Regions from separate parts of the Homo sapiens genome. Here region 1 is linked to region 2. Evidence: promoter capture Hi-C in 16 types of primary human blood cells and fetal thymus (Javierre and others, 2016). All regions are on one chromosome and are shown on one strand. The core of a region is centred on a gene start or on the middle of the fragment in contact, and the rest is flanking DNA. Distances in the headings are between cores, read along the strand shown. Region 1 has its middle 8.8 kb from the start of CRACR2A. Region 2 holds the start of TIGAR (TP53 induced glycolysis regulatory phosphatase).

What was found. The method cuts DNA at HindIII sites, captures the fragments that hold promoters and counts their contacts. A CHiCAGO score of 5 or more calls a contact.
Region 1: a contact is called between a fragment that was not itself captured here and the fragment with the promoter of TIGAR in region 2, in 1 of 17 cell types (naive B cells). The highest score is 5.3, in naive B cells.

What each region holds. Positions count from the first base shown.
Region 1 is chr12:3,758,560-3,765,223 of GRCh38, forward strand. No RefSeq gene overlaps it. Among named protein-coding and RNA genes, the nearest start is that of CRACR2A, 8.8 kb to the left of the region's middle. The HindIII fragment of the contact is 1,923 bases long and covers 368-2,290 here.
Region 2 is chr12:4,317,249-4,324,239 of GRCh38, forward strand. It overlaps TIGAR (TP53 induced glycolysis regulatory phosphatase), which reads left to right and starts at 3,965. Exons shown (of 6, transcript NM_020375.3): 1 at 3,965-4,055. The coding sequence starts at 4,024. RefSeq lists an enhancer at 3,557-4,210 and a silencer at 3,676-4,055. The HindIII fragment of the contact is 10,388 bases long and covers 1-6,991 here.

The DNA of each region.
Region 1 (6,664 bases), core at 79-2,578, 560 kb before region 2:
TTCTGTATTAGTCTCTTCTCATGCTGCTGATCAAGACTTACCTGAGACTGGGTAATTTATAAACGAAAAGAGGTTTAGTGGACTCACAGTTCCATGTGGCTGGGGAGGCCTCACAATCATGGTGGAGGGCAAAAGGCACGTCTTATATGGTGGCAGACAAGAGAGAGCTTGGGCAGGGAAACTCCCCTTTATCAAACCATCAAATCTCGTGAGACTTATTCACTATCACAAGAACAGCACAGGAAAGACCCACCCCTATGATTCAATTACCTCCCACCAGGTCCCTCCCATGACAAATGGGAATTGTGGGAGCTACAATTCAAGAGGAGATTTGAGTGGGGACACAGCCAAACTATATCACCTTCTAAGCTTATGTCTCACTATTCACCCACAAATAGGCTGTAAAGAGCCCAGCATTTGCTTTCTAGCAATGGTGTCATACCAGCTTTGCTTTCCCTGCCTGCAGGGCCCTCCATGCATCTCTGTTTAAAGTCTAAAGCCAGATCCAGCTTTCATGCTGCCTACTGCAGAAAGACACCTCTGGTGTTTCTCAACCAGAGGAGCCTCCCCACCTCTCAATTCCGGACCACTTCTCTTAAAAACATGACCAATGATGCCAAAAGTCTAATTTATGTGTAGAGTTGGTGTTGCAGAGTAGAAGGGGATTGAGAGGTTGAGACTAAATAACTACTCAGCTTTGAACATGTCAGGAAGTTTATCTGTTCTTCGGCTTCCTAATCTGTAAAATGTAGTTAGGGACAGGATCTACCTGATGAGGTTGTTGTGAGACGTAAATGAAATAATTCACATAAAAAGCAACTAGTACAGTGCCTGGTACATAGTCAAGGCTTACAGTGTCAGGAAAGGAAAAAGGAAGGGAGGGAGGGAGGGAGGAAGGAGAGGAAGAGGGAAAAGCAAAGCAAAGAGAATGACACCAGCCTAGGCAACACAGTGACACCCCATCTCTACAAAAAATTATAAATTAAAAAAAAATTAGCCAGGCATGGTGGCTGATATGGTTTGGATTTGTGTCCCCACCCAAATCTCATGTCGAATTGTAATCCCTAATGTTGGAGGAGGAGCCTGGTGGGAGGTGACTGGATCATGGGGAAGGATTTTCCCCCTTGCTATTCTCATGATAGTGAGTGAGTTCTCACAAGATCTGGTTGTTTAAAAGTTGATATGGTTTGGCTGTGTGCCCACTCAAATCTCAACTTGAACTGTATCTCCCAGAATTCCCACGTGTTATGGGAGGGACCCAGGGGGAGGTAGTTGAATCATGGGGGCCAGTGTTTCTTGTGCTATTATCATGATAGTAAGTCTCACAAGATCTGATGGGTTTATCAGGAGTTTCTGCTTTTGCTTCTCTCTCATTCTCTCCTGCCACACTATGTAAGAAGTGCCTTTCCCCCCCCACCATGATTCTGAGGCCTCCCTAGCCATGTGGAACTGTAAGTCCAATTAAACCTCTTTCTTTCCCCAGTCTCGGGTATGTCTTATCAGCAGCATGAAAAGGGACTAATGAAACGTGTATAGCACTTCCCTTTTTGCTCTCTTCCTCAAGCTCCAGCCATGTAGGATGTGCCTGTTCCACCTTCACCTTCTGCCATGATTGTAAATTTCCTGAGGTCTCCCCAGACATGCTTCCTGGAACCATGAGCCAACTAAATCTCTTTTCTTTATAAATTACCCAGTCTCAGGTAGTTCTTTATAACCATGTGAGAATGGACTAATACAGTGGCACACACCTGTAGTGAGCTATGATAACGCCACTGCACTCCAACCTAGGCAACAGAGCAAGACCCTGTCTCTGAAAAGAAAGAAAGAAAAGAAAAAGAGAGAGAGAGAAAGAAAGAAAGAAAGAGAGAGAGAGAGATAGAAAGGAGGGAGGGAGGGAGGGGGAGGGGAGGGGAGGGAAAAGAAAAGAAAAGAAGCAAGCAAGAAGAGAAGGAAGAAGGAAGGAAGGAGGGAAAAAATATCCTCCTCTCTCTACTGAAGTCAAAAGCACCATTGCCTCTTCTTAGATGAAATACATATATGACCTCCTTGGAGGCACAATTTTATGTAACAATGACACCAAAGATCATGGAAAGGGTGAGATCAATTAATTTTTTAGATCTCCTATGTAAAGACATTGGCTGAATTCTGAATTCCATTAGAAACTGAATATTTTCAGGATGGAAGGAAATGCAGCAAGTCACCCTGTCCAACGCCCATTGATTTTCAGCTAAGGGAACTGAGATCTGCAAAGGGTAAGAGCCCACTGGCTGCAGCTGAGTCCAGATTGGAAAGCTTCCAGCCCAGACCTCCTCCCCTCCTGCACATCCCCTCTCCCAGCTGGGGAGAGACACCATAAAAACCTGATGTCCAGAGAAGAACTTCTGGCATAAGAGTGTGAAGAGGTCGATAATCTATTTCCTCAAAAAGCAACTATAGTCCCCACTCAAAACTGTCAAAAACAACCATTTCATTTCCCAAAAATGACTGGAGGCGTGCAACAAACTGAGAAGTGCTTATATTCGTGAAAACTACTAAACTTACAGCAACATCAGCGTGAATCTGTGGTGATTTGTATGAGTCCTGCACCCCTGCCCCGCCACCAGAGTGCTGTTGTTTGATAGTTCAATGAGGGCAAGCCAGATCTTACAAACTAGCATTTTTTTGTCACTGCCAGAGGGGGTTCCCTTGACTTGAAGCAGTATTATTTAAGCGATGATCTCAGAGGCAAGTAATCAGAAAGGACCAGAAGCTCTTCTGGCCTGAAACTGCAGAGCAAGCAATGGGCTAGTGACTAGCTGGGTACTTAACAGGGAGTTCCAGGAGGTGAAGCAGATATGAGGGGATTAGTAAACTCTCCCCATATTATGAGTTAAACAGAGGTCGTATGCATATGCTGCAGAAACGGGAACATCCTAAGCCACCCACACATTCCTGGCCAGTGGAGTCTTCCCCATGTACAGTGGAGATGCAAGGGCTCAGGGGAAAAGAGAAGCCTCGGCAGACTTGGGGGGAAAATGCCTGAAATTTTGATGCACTCTCCAGCTGACTCACAAATCTGCCAGCAGAAAGTAGAAATCTCACTGGCTCGAGATATTTGAGCATAACCTCTGACCAATCTTTGGCTGAACGCTAATCTAGGCAGACACATGGGCAACTCTAGGAAGCCAGGCTTAAGAATAAGAAACAAGGCCAGCTGGCCGGGCACGGTGGCTCATGCCTGTAATCCCAGCACTTTGGGAGGCCGAGGTGAGCGGATCACGAGGTCAGGAGTTCGAGACCAGCCTGACCAACATGGTGAAACCCCGTCTCTACTAAAAATACAAAAATTAACCAGGCGTGGTGGCGCGCACTTGTAATCCCAGTTACTCAGGAGGTTGAGGCAGGAGAACTGCTTGAACCCAGGAGGTGAAGGTTGCAGTGAACCAAAATTATGCCACAGCACTCCAGCCTGGGCGATAAAGTGAGACTCGGTCTCAAAAAAAAAAAAAAAGAAACAAGGCCAGGAGTGGTGGCTCACGCCTGTAATCCCAGCATTTTGGGAGGCCGAGGCGGGTGGATCATGAGGTCAGGAGATTGAGACCATCCTGGCTTACACAGTGAAACCCTGTCTCTACTAAAAATACCAAAAAAAAAATTAGCGGGGTGTGATGGCATGCTCTTATAGTCCCAGCTACTCAGGAGGCTGAGGCAAGAGAATCATTTGAACCCAGGAGGCAGAGGTTGCAGTGAGCCGAGATCACACCACTGCACTCCAGCCTGGACAACAGAGCAAGACTCTGTCTCAAAAACAAACAAACAAAAAAGAATAAGAAACAAGAAAAACAGTAGCAGAGACAGTCATAGATGTACGCTGCAGAGGCAAGCTTCACAGATTTCTTCCAGACAAGTTATTAAATAAACATACAAAACAATAACAATAGCAACACTCAAATTAAAATTAAAATCCAAAGTTGCTACAATATACTATGTAAAATATCCAGTTTTCAACAAAAAAATGATAAGGCAGGCAAAGCAACACAAAGGTATGACCATATTCAGGAAAAAAAAAAAGGAGTCAGTTGAAATTGTCTCTGAATGTCCCTGGATGTTGGGTCTAGCAGACAGTTTTTAAAGCAGTTATTAGAAATATGTTCAAGGAACTACAGGAAACCATGTTTAAAATTTTAAGGAAAGTATGACAACAATAAATAAACAATATCAACAAAAGAAATTACACGAATGAATCAATTCTAAAACAATGGATGTCACAAGGCAGTGAAATGACATATTCGAAATGGTGAAAAATATCTGTCAACAAATTACTTACATCCATCAAAACTATCCTTCACAAATGAAGGCAAAGTAAAGACATTCCCAGGTAACCAAAGAGTGAGACAATGTTTTGCTAGCAAATGTACCTCACGATAAATACTAATGGAAGTCCTTTAGGCTTAAAGAAAGTAACACCATAAGATACTCAAATCCACAGAAAGAAAGGAAGCAGTTCAGAAATTATAAATATGTGGGTAAATATAAAAGACTCCATAAATATAGTTTTTCCAATTTTTTTCTCTTCTTTAAAAGACATAAAATTGTATAAAGCAAAACTTATAACACTGTATTGTTGGGTATATAACACACATAGAAATTGATACGATAATGATGGAACAAAGGAGGGTAGGGAAAAGAAATAAATATTGCAGCAATATTTTTAGAATTAATGTAGTATTATTCTGAATTAGATTGCAAGAAGTTGAGATGCACATTGTAATTCCTAAAACACCTAAGAATATAACTCAAAAATACAGCAGAAAAATCAACAGAGGAATTAAAATGCTACACTAAAAATATTCATTTAACATGAAAGACGGAGATAAAAGAGGAGCAAAGGAATAATAACAAAAAAATGAGAAAAATAGAAAACACACAGAAAAATAACAAATATCAATCCATACCAACAATTACACAAAATATAAATGGACTAAATGCCCTACTCAAAAGGAACAGGTTTTCAGACTGGATAAAAAAGAACAAGACCAAATTTTTGTATGTTTGTATATGCTGTCTACGAGAAACATAGCTTAGCTTCAAAGAAACAAGAAACACAGCTTAGCTTCAAAGAAACAAAGAAAATTAAATGTAAAAGGATGGAGGACTTCCAGTTTCAGCTATGACATGTGAAGAGCTTAGAAGTTATCACTTCCATTCTTACAAGATAAAAGCTGCACAAATGGAAAACAAACTTTTCTTAGAGCCATCAGAAAATTGAGATCGCAGGGCAAAGAAGCACCCTGAAATCTAGAGAGACAAGTGAATACAGAGAACCACAGCCTAGGTCAGCTCTTGTAAAGCAGAAGCCACGACAGCCGTAAATGGACAGAAACACTTACAGTAATTCTGATGGATTGCTGGGGGTCGAGTATGGATTTGCTTGAGAGAGTAATTCCTGGAGATGCAGTGTTAGTGTGCTTCCCCCACTACACTTTGATGGATTTTACCTTCAGGAGCCTCACCAGATTCTCACAGTGAATATCCAACAAAAAAATCCCTTATGTTTCAGGCAGGGGTGAGGGGAAAAGTAACCATTTAAAATGCCAAAGCATTCTCCATTTCAAGGGCCTACTCTCCGAGGGAACCAACTTTACCAGAGCCTTATCTACCTGAGAGAAGGACGATTAGCCAACTTCAGCTCCTTCTAGCTTTCCTGTCTCACTTGAAGGAAGGGAAAAACAAAACGAAACAAAAAACATCTGAAGGTTATAGCCCAGAGACTCAGGAAAAAAAAAAAAAAAAGGAGTCAATTGAAATTGTCTCTGAATGTCCCTGGATGTTGGGTCTAGGAGACAGTTTTTAAAGCAGTTATTAGAAATATGTTCTACTAAAATAAAATAAGCCTGAGATTTAATCATAAAATTATAGATCATTTCACCTCACCAACACCTTTTGTATTAGGGTTCTCTAGAGGGACAGGACTAATAGGATAGATGCATATATGAAAGGGAGTTTATTAAGGAGTATTGACTCACAAGATCAGAAGATGAAGTCCCACAATAGACCGTCTGGAAGCTAGGGAGCAAGGAAGCCAGTCTGAATCCCAAAACCTCAAAAATAGAGAACGCGACAGGGCAGTCTTCAGTTTGTGGCCAAAGGCCCAAGAACCCCTGGCAAACCACTGGTGGAGGTCCAAGAGTCCAAAAGCTGAGGAATTTAGAGTCCGCTGTTCCAGGGCAGGAAGCATCCAGCACGGGAGAAAGATGGAGGCCAGAAGACTTAGCTAGTCTAGTCCTTACACCTTCCTCTCCCTGCTTTTATCCTAGCCACGCTGGCAGCTGATTCGATGATAACTACCCAGATTGAGGGTGGGTCTGCCTCTACTAGTCCACTGACTCAAATGTTAATCTCCTTTGGCAACACCCTCACAGCCACACCCAGGAACAATACTTTTCGTCCTTCAGTCTAATAAAATTGACACTCGGTATTAACCATCACACCTTATTATATCAACAGAGCTCTAGTATAGCAGATTACATCTGAAAGACCTGAAAAACACAAGTTCTATTTAAGAAAGGGTTCTGGCCAGATGCGGTGTCTCACGCCTCTAATCCCAGCACTTTGGGAGGCCGAGGCGGGCGGATCACGAGGTCAGGAGATCGAGACCATCCTGACTAACACGGTGAAACCCCGT
Region 2 (6,991 bases), core at 2,715-5,214:
TTGCAACTTTCTAAATTTCTCCTAAAACAATAATCCTCTCCAATATGTCAGCTTTTTTAAATATGTATGCTTCATTAGACAAACTGATCATAACAGGTATTCTTCATTCATTTGACAGATTTTAATGGAATCTCCACTGTGTTCCAAACATTTTCTTAGGAACCAAGGAAGTAATGAAATAGAGCCAGTAGTTACCCTCATGATTTATAGTTTTGAAACCTGGAGTATACTTATCTGGTCTCAAACTCAGTTCTGAGATCTTGAGAGATGGGAAATTAGTTTTTGTTTGTTTGTTTGTTTTTGGAGATGAAGTCTCACTCTGTCGCCCAGGCTGGAGTGCAGTGGCATGATCTTGGCTCTGCAACCTCTGCCTCCCGGGTTCAAGCAATTCCCCTGCCTCAGCCTCCCGAATAGCTGGGATTACAGGCACCTACCACCACGCCCGGCTACTTTTTGTGTTTTAGTGGAGGAGGGGTTTCACCATGTTGGCCAGGCTGGTCTCCAACTCCTGAGCTCAAGTGATCCGCCCGCCTCGGCCTCCCAAAGTGCTGGGATTACAGGCGTGAGCCACTGTGCCTGGCCCAAGAAATGGGAAATTAGTTAACCTGTATGTGCCTTAATTCTTCATCTGTGAAATGGAAATAACTCCTACCTTGCAGAGTTACTGTGTGTATTAAATAAGACAAAATGGGAAGCTGTTTTTATTTAGGCGTTAGAAATGCACTTGGACCACCTTAAAGTGAAAGAGGTTTTACTATACAAACCGGAACTTTCAAGGTATCTGGGACTATGGCAGTTTGAGCGACCAGTGACTGGGTACTCCTTGCATTACTCACTTGTGTCTGTGTCTCTCTGTGTGTCTCTTTGCTTCTTCCATTGACTTTGCTTCTTCGTACCCTCTCCTCTGTTCTCTCACTTGTATTATTTATGGCTTCTGTTTCTTCACAGCTTCAATCACCATGCCCCTTCATAGCCCTAACTCTATCCTATGATTTCTTTCTGTGCTTTCTTTCTGCTTCACCCCTCACAGATAACTACTTAATTTCATTTTTTCAGCTCAAACTTCCAGGAGAATCTGCTGGGATGATTCATTCATTTGGGCATTCAGAACACGGACACGGACACACACACACACACACACACACACACACACACACACACACACACACACACACGATATCTGGGCCCCACTGTTAGGGCCCTCTGAATTATCCCTCCACTCTCATCCTGAAAATGCCTCCTGTTGACCTGCAAGCTGTTAGAGATGCTGAATTTGGTCCCCACTCCAATCTACTAACTCCAGAATCTACATTTTAACACTATGCCCAACTGCTTTGTGTGCACGTTCGAGTTTGTGAAGCATTGCTTTAAACTGCTAGCTCTCAGAACAGCCACTTGTATGTTGGAAACAGCTGGGGATTAAAAGCATACAGATACTGCTGCCTGAGTCTTTCCCCCAGAAGTTCAGATTTGATTTTTCTGGGGTGTAGCCTGGCAAAGGTCTCCAGACGATTCTAATGTAAAGATAGGTTTGAGGACCTCTAAACTAGTTCTGTGTCACCGCTGACCAGTTGTGTGAGCCTAGACAAATCGCTGTCTCTCTCTCGGCCATATTTCTTTTTTTTTTTTTTTGAGATGGGGTCTTGCTCTGTCACCCAGGCTGGAGTGCAGTGTTGGAATCTCGGCTCACTGCAACCTCTGCCTCCCGGGTTCAAACGATTCTCCTGCCTCAGCCTCCCTAGTAGCTGCGACTACAGGCACGTGCCACCATGCCCGGCTAATTTTTTGTATTTTTAGTAGAGATGGGGTTTCACCGTGTTAGCCAAAATGGTCTCTATCTCCTGACCTGCAGATTCTCCTGACCTGCCTTGGCCTCCCAAAGTGCTGGGATTACAGGCGTGAGCCACCATGCCCGGCCATATTTCTCATCTCTAAAGTGAAGATAATGTAGCCTATCCTGTCTACCTTAGAATTGTTCAGAAGGCCAAATGTGATATTACATGTAAGACTGTTTTGAAATGTGTGCCTATGAATCTAAGTATCTCATTCATCTCTTCTCTAAACACATCTTTTCATATATAAGTGGGGATTCAAGGAAATAAATGCATTATGAAATACAAGAATTTAGGTAACAGTGCATGGAAGACAATGTCACCTAGCTAACATTATTGTTACTTGTGTCACATTGCTAGGTACTGCTATCCCAGTTTACCTGTCACAAAACCCAGGGTTAGAGAAGCTCATGTTATAAATAAACTTTCAGTGCCACAAAAGAAATAGCACTCGAATATAAAATTTTCTTTTTAATTCTCAGCAAGGCAAGGTACTTCTATAGAAGGGTGCGTCCTTACAGATGGAGCAATGGTGAGCGCACACTTGGACAAGGGAGGGGAAGGGGTTCTTATCCCTGACGCACGTGGCCCCTGCTGCTGTGTAGTGCCCCACCGCACAGGCTAAACTAATTCCGATTGGCTAATCTAAAGAGAGTGATGGGGGTGAGTGGTTTGGCGGGAAAAACAGTTATGACAGAGCAGGTAATCTGAGTCAGGGTGGCGTAGGTAATGGGAAGGAGTCAGGGTGGAGTAGGTAATGGGAAGGAGTCAGGGTGGAGTAGGTAATGGGAAGGAGTCAGAGTGCAGCAGGTAATCGAAAAAGGTTGTGGCCGGGCGCGGTGGCTCACGCCTGTAATCCCACCACTTTGGGAGGTCGAGGCGGGCGGATCACGAGGTCAGGAGATCGAGACCATCCTGGCTAACACGGTGAAACCCTGTCTCTACTAAAAATACAAAAAATTAGCCGGGCGTGGTGGCAGGCGCCTGTAGTCCCAGCTACTCGGGAGGCTGAGCCAGAATGGCGTGAACCCGGGAGGCGGAGCTTGCAGTGAGCCGAGATCACACCACTGCACTCCAGCCTGGGTGACAGAGCCAGACTCCATCTCAAAAAAATAAATAAATAAATAAAAAAGAGAAGGTTGCTTTAGGAGGAAGTTAAGTTTAAAAGTAAAAAGCAAAGAATTGAACATACTGACATATTGATTCTTTGAAAAGAAATTTAGAACTCATATCTAACATGAAGCAACTCCCTCAACGTTCTGAAGGCTATTAAAGAGAAATTATTCATCTGAGGCTTGTTAAAAACGGCAAGACTTTACTCAAGACTACTGCAATAGGTGAGAGAGACTGAATTCGACTCTAGAATACAACCGGGACCAGTGGAGATTTATAGCCAGGGGGCGGGATGGAAGGGATGAAAGAGAAGATGGGAAATTACCAGAACGTGGTAAGCTATCTGGGGGAGGGGGAGGAGGAACTTTACTAGATATCAAGGGCCTTAGAAGAGAGCATCAACAGTGAGGTCTCTCTTGATAAACAGGCTTAGCAGGATTCTTTGGTAAAACCAGGCTCAGCAGGCCGAGGATGCCGTCTAGTATAGAAAAGGCCTCAAAGGAGCCCGACTAAAGTTTGGTCACGGAGGGCGTCTGTCCCGGCGGAGTTGGGGTGGGTGGGTCTAAGTCTACAGACCTGGCCGACGCTACGTCCCTAAGGTTAGGGACTAACAGACCTCATAGAACACAGTCTGTTGGTCGCTGTACACCCGTGAGGGGTTCATCACAGTGGCCAGCTATAAGACGAACGGTTGCATTCCAGCCTCAATCGCAACAACCACAAATCAGTGCGCCGGCTTCCTTATCTGCCCCGAACGCAGGCTGCCGGCTATCGAGGGAAGGAATCCTACCGCGGACTCCGCGGGCGGGGCCTCCCGCACCTGCCGCGCGCCAATCACAGGCCGGCGCGCAGGGGCGCAAGCGCCGCAGCCCTGGGCGGGGCCCCCGTGGCTCCCTCGTCTCCCCCGCCCCGTCGGCCTCGCCCGGCCCTGAGTGGCCTTCGGGGATGACGTGCGAGGCCGCCTCGGCCTATGGCGGCGGAGCCGGCCGGCTGCTTGGCGGAAGTGGTGTGGGGGAGGTAGCCCGCAGTGCAGGGGCAGCGCGGCGCGGGGCCACCGACGGGACGCGGCTCCGGGAACATGGCTCGCTTCGCTCTGACTGTTGTCCGGCAGTGAGTATGGCTGTGGCAGGATGTCTTTCTCTCTCTCTTCCTTGAGTGTGTTGGAGCGGGTGAAGGGAAAACGGGTCCACCACCCTCTCCCCTCCCTGCTCGCTCCAGCCCGGGAGGGCTGGCTTGGAAGCGCTTTTTCCGGGGCGCTTGCCCTGGGGCCGTCCCGTGTCGCCCCTCCTCTCACCCCAGCAGCCCCGAGGGACGACGGCAGGTCTTAGATAGCTTCGTTCCGTGTTTCAGATAAAGTGAGGCCCGGAGGAGCAAGGGATCGGGGTTCGTAGGCACTTGGTGGCTGCACCAAAAACGGTGCCAGACATGTCCACAGACTTGTCTGGGTACCGATTTTGCTCCCCAGCAGATTGCAAAGAGTTTGCAGAATTGCTCGTCCATGGCTGATGTTTTTGATGCCGGCTGCCTTCCGCTATCCTCTCAGTTTCTGAGGTTCCCCCTCGTTTCCCCAGGCAGTCAGCCCCCCAGGCACATATATGAGACTTCTTTCTTTTCCCCAGAGGTTACAGTTCTGGGAGAGAAAAGAGGATCACAGCTCTGATCTCAGCAGACCGTATCATCCCAAATAAATGTTTTTATTATCATAACGTTACACGGAGCTGCATGCTGATAGGTCTTTATGTATTTGCCAAGTGTTAACGGGAGGTGAAAATCAGGGTAGTTAAGAGCACAGATTTTTATTTTTATTTTTTTTTTTTTGTGAGATGGAGCCTCGCTCTGTCACCCAGGCTGGAGTGCAGTGGCGCTATCTCTGCTCACTGCAACCTCCCGCCTCCGGGGTTCAAGCGATTCTCCTGCTTCAGCCTCCCGAGTAGCTGGGATTACAGGCATGCGCCACCACGCCCGGCTAATTTTTGTATTTTTAGTAGAGACAGGGTTTCGCCATGTTGGTCAGGCAGGTCTGGAACTCCTGACCTTAAGTGATCCGACTACCTCGGCCTCGCAAAGTGTTGGGATTACAGGCATGAGCCACCGCGCCCTGCTAAGAGCACAGATTTTTCAGGCAAGGTAGACCTCGGTTGGAGTCTGTTCTCCAGCTAAGAGCCAGGTAGCCTGGACTTAAGTTTCCTGATATGCAAATGATAGTGCGTATCTCACTACTTTAATGCGAGAATTAAATGGGGGACAGGTAAAGTGTATGATGCAACAGGGAAAGAAATATATCTGAGAAATAACTTCTATAAAGAAAGCTCCAATAAAAGTGCAGTTGATTCCCAAATACGAACGTATAGTTCAGCACACCAGCATTTTGAGTAGGTAATGTGTGCCAGTAGACTGGATCATACAGATAAATAACATACCATTTCTGCATTCATGGAGCTCACAAAGGACATTAATATGATTTAACTTTGTCAATTGACTTTAACAGCTATCTTTTCTGGCCTGTCCTTCCTTTATAAGAAAGATAATCTTAAGAATCCTCTAAAATTGTCTGTTTAGGATTAGCAGGATTTTAATGGCTACCTTAGAAATCTAGTTCCTCACTATCTCTTCTCCCACCCCTCTCGGTTGTATAGAATGCCTTGGGAGAATTCTTAACTTACTAAAGGTCACACAGCTAATCGGTAGCAGAACAGGAACTAGAGGCCTGATCACCCTTTCTTCCAATGTTAGTGCACTTTCTAGACGCCTGACCCAGCCAGCCCAGTGTCATATTTATAATTGAAACTCAGACCATCAAGGTGGTTCACCCCTGTAATCCTAGCACGTTGGGGGGCGGAAGTGGGTGGATCCCTTGAGCACAGGAGTTCAAGACCAGCCTGGGCAACATGGTGAAACCTCCTCTCTACAAAAAAAAAAAAAAAAAGCTGGCTGTGGTGGTGCATGCCTGTGAACCTAGCTAATAGGGAGGCTGAGGCAGGAAGATCACTTGGATCATGTGAGCCTGGGAAGTGAGGGCTGTAGTGAGCTGTGATTGGGCCACTGCACCCCAGCCTAAGCGACACAGTGGGACCCTGTCTCAAAAAGAAAAAAAAGAAAACTCAGAAGTTGTAGAATATTTGGGGTAAGGCAACCCCTAAAAAGTAAGATGATTCCTATTTAGATTCCTAATAGACAATAGTCATATAAATATGGATTTTATTCCCTTTCTGCTGCTTAAAAAGGGTTTGATTCCGGAGGCCCTCATAGGAATCATTTAAAAAATAAGTCTTAATAAATGATTATTTGCCAGGCACTGTTGTAATTAAAATCTGACAGTTTAGTGAGTTAAGGACTGATATCCTCATTTTTCACATGAGGCAGCTGAGACAGAGACGCCTTGTAACTTGCTTAAAGTCACATGGCAAGTTGAGGAAGTAGGAGTTTAACCAAAGCAACTTTACCACTCACCGTCTTTTGTTTCCTACTTAATTTGTTAAAACCCGGTATTTGTAGATTACTTGAACATCACCAGCCATTTTTGAGGCTACTTTTTAGTCTCTTAATATAATTGTGTGGAGTTATGACAATAGTTTATTTTGTTCTGTTTTATGTGTAGGAAGATGGAGTGAGAGGGCTGGTTCAATGCTTTCCGGTCTGGATCCTCCTGCTTCTTGCCTTCAGAGTTCTCAAAACCAAAACCTGGTGATTCTTTCAGGAAAAGAAGTGATTTTTAAATTTGACTCATTATCACCATAGTTAAATGTAATGACTTTTTGAAGAGTTAGATAATTTTATTGGACTTACCTCTTCAGATAATGCAAAAAAATCTTTAAAGCAATTTAAGTTCAACAGAACCTGTTAGGAATCTTGTGCTGTTCCTGTATGTGGTTTATCTTTCTTCATACTTTGAAATGAAAGTACCAGTGTGTATCATTTCTGGAACAGACTGCCCAAGATTCCAGAATTCAAGTCTATCATCATTGTCAGACTATAACTTCTCATGAGCTTATGGCACAGCATTGTTGAAAACTCCAACACGTGTAGGTTGGCATTACCATCACCTA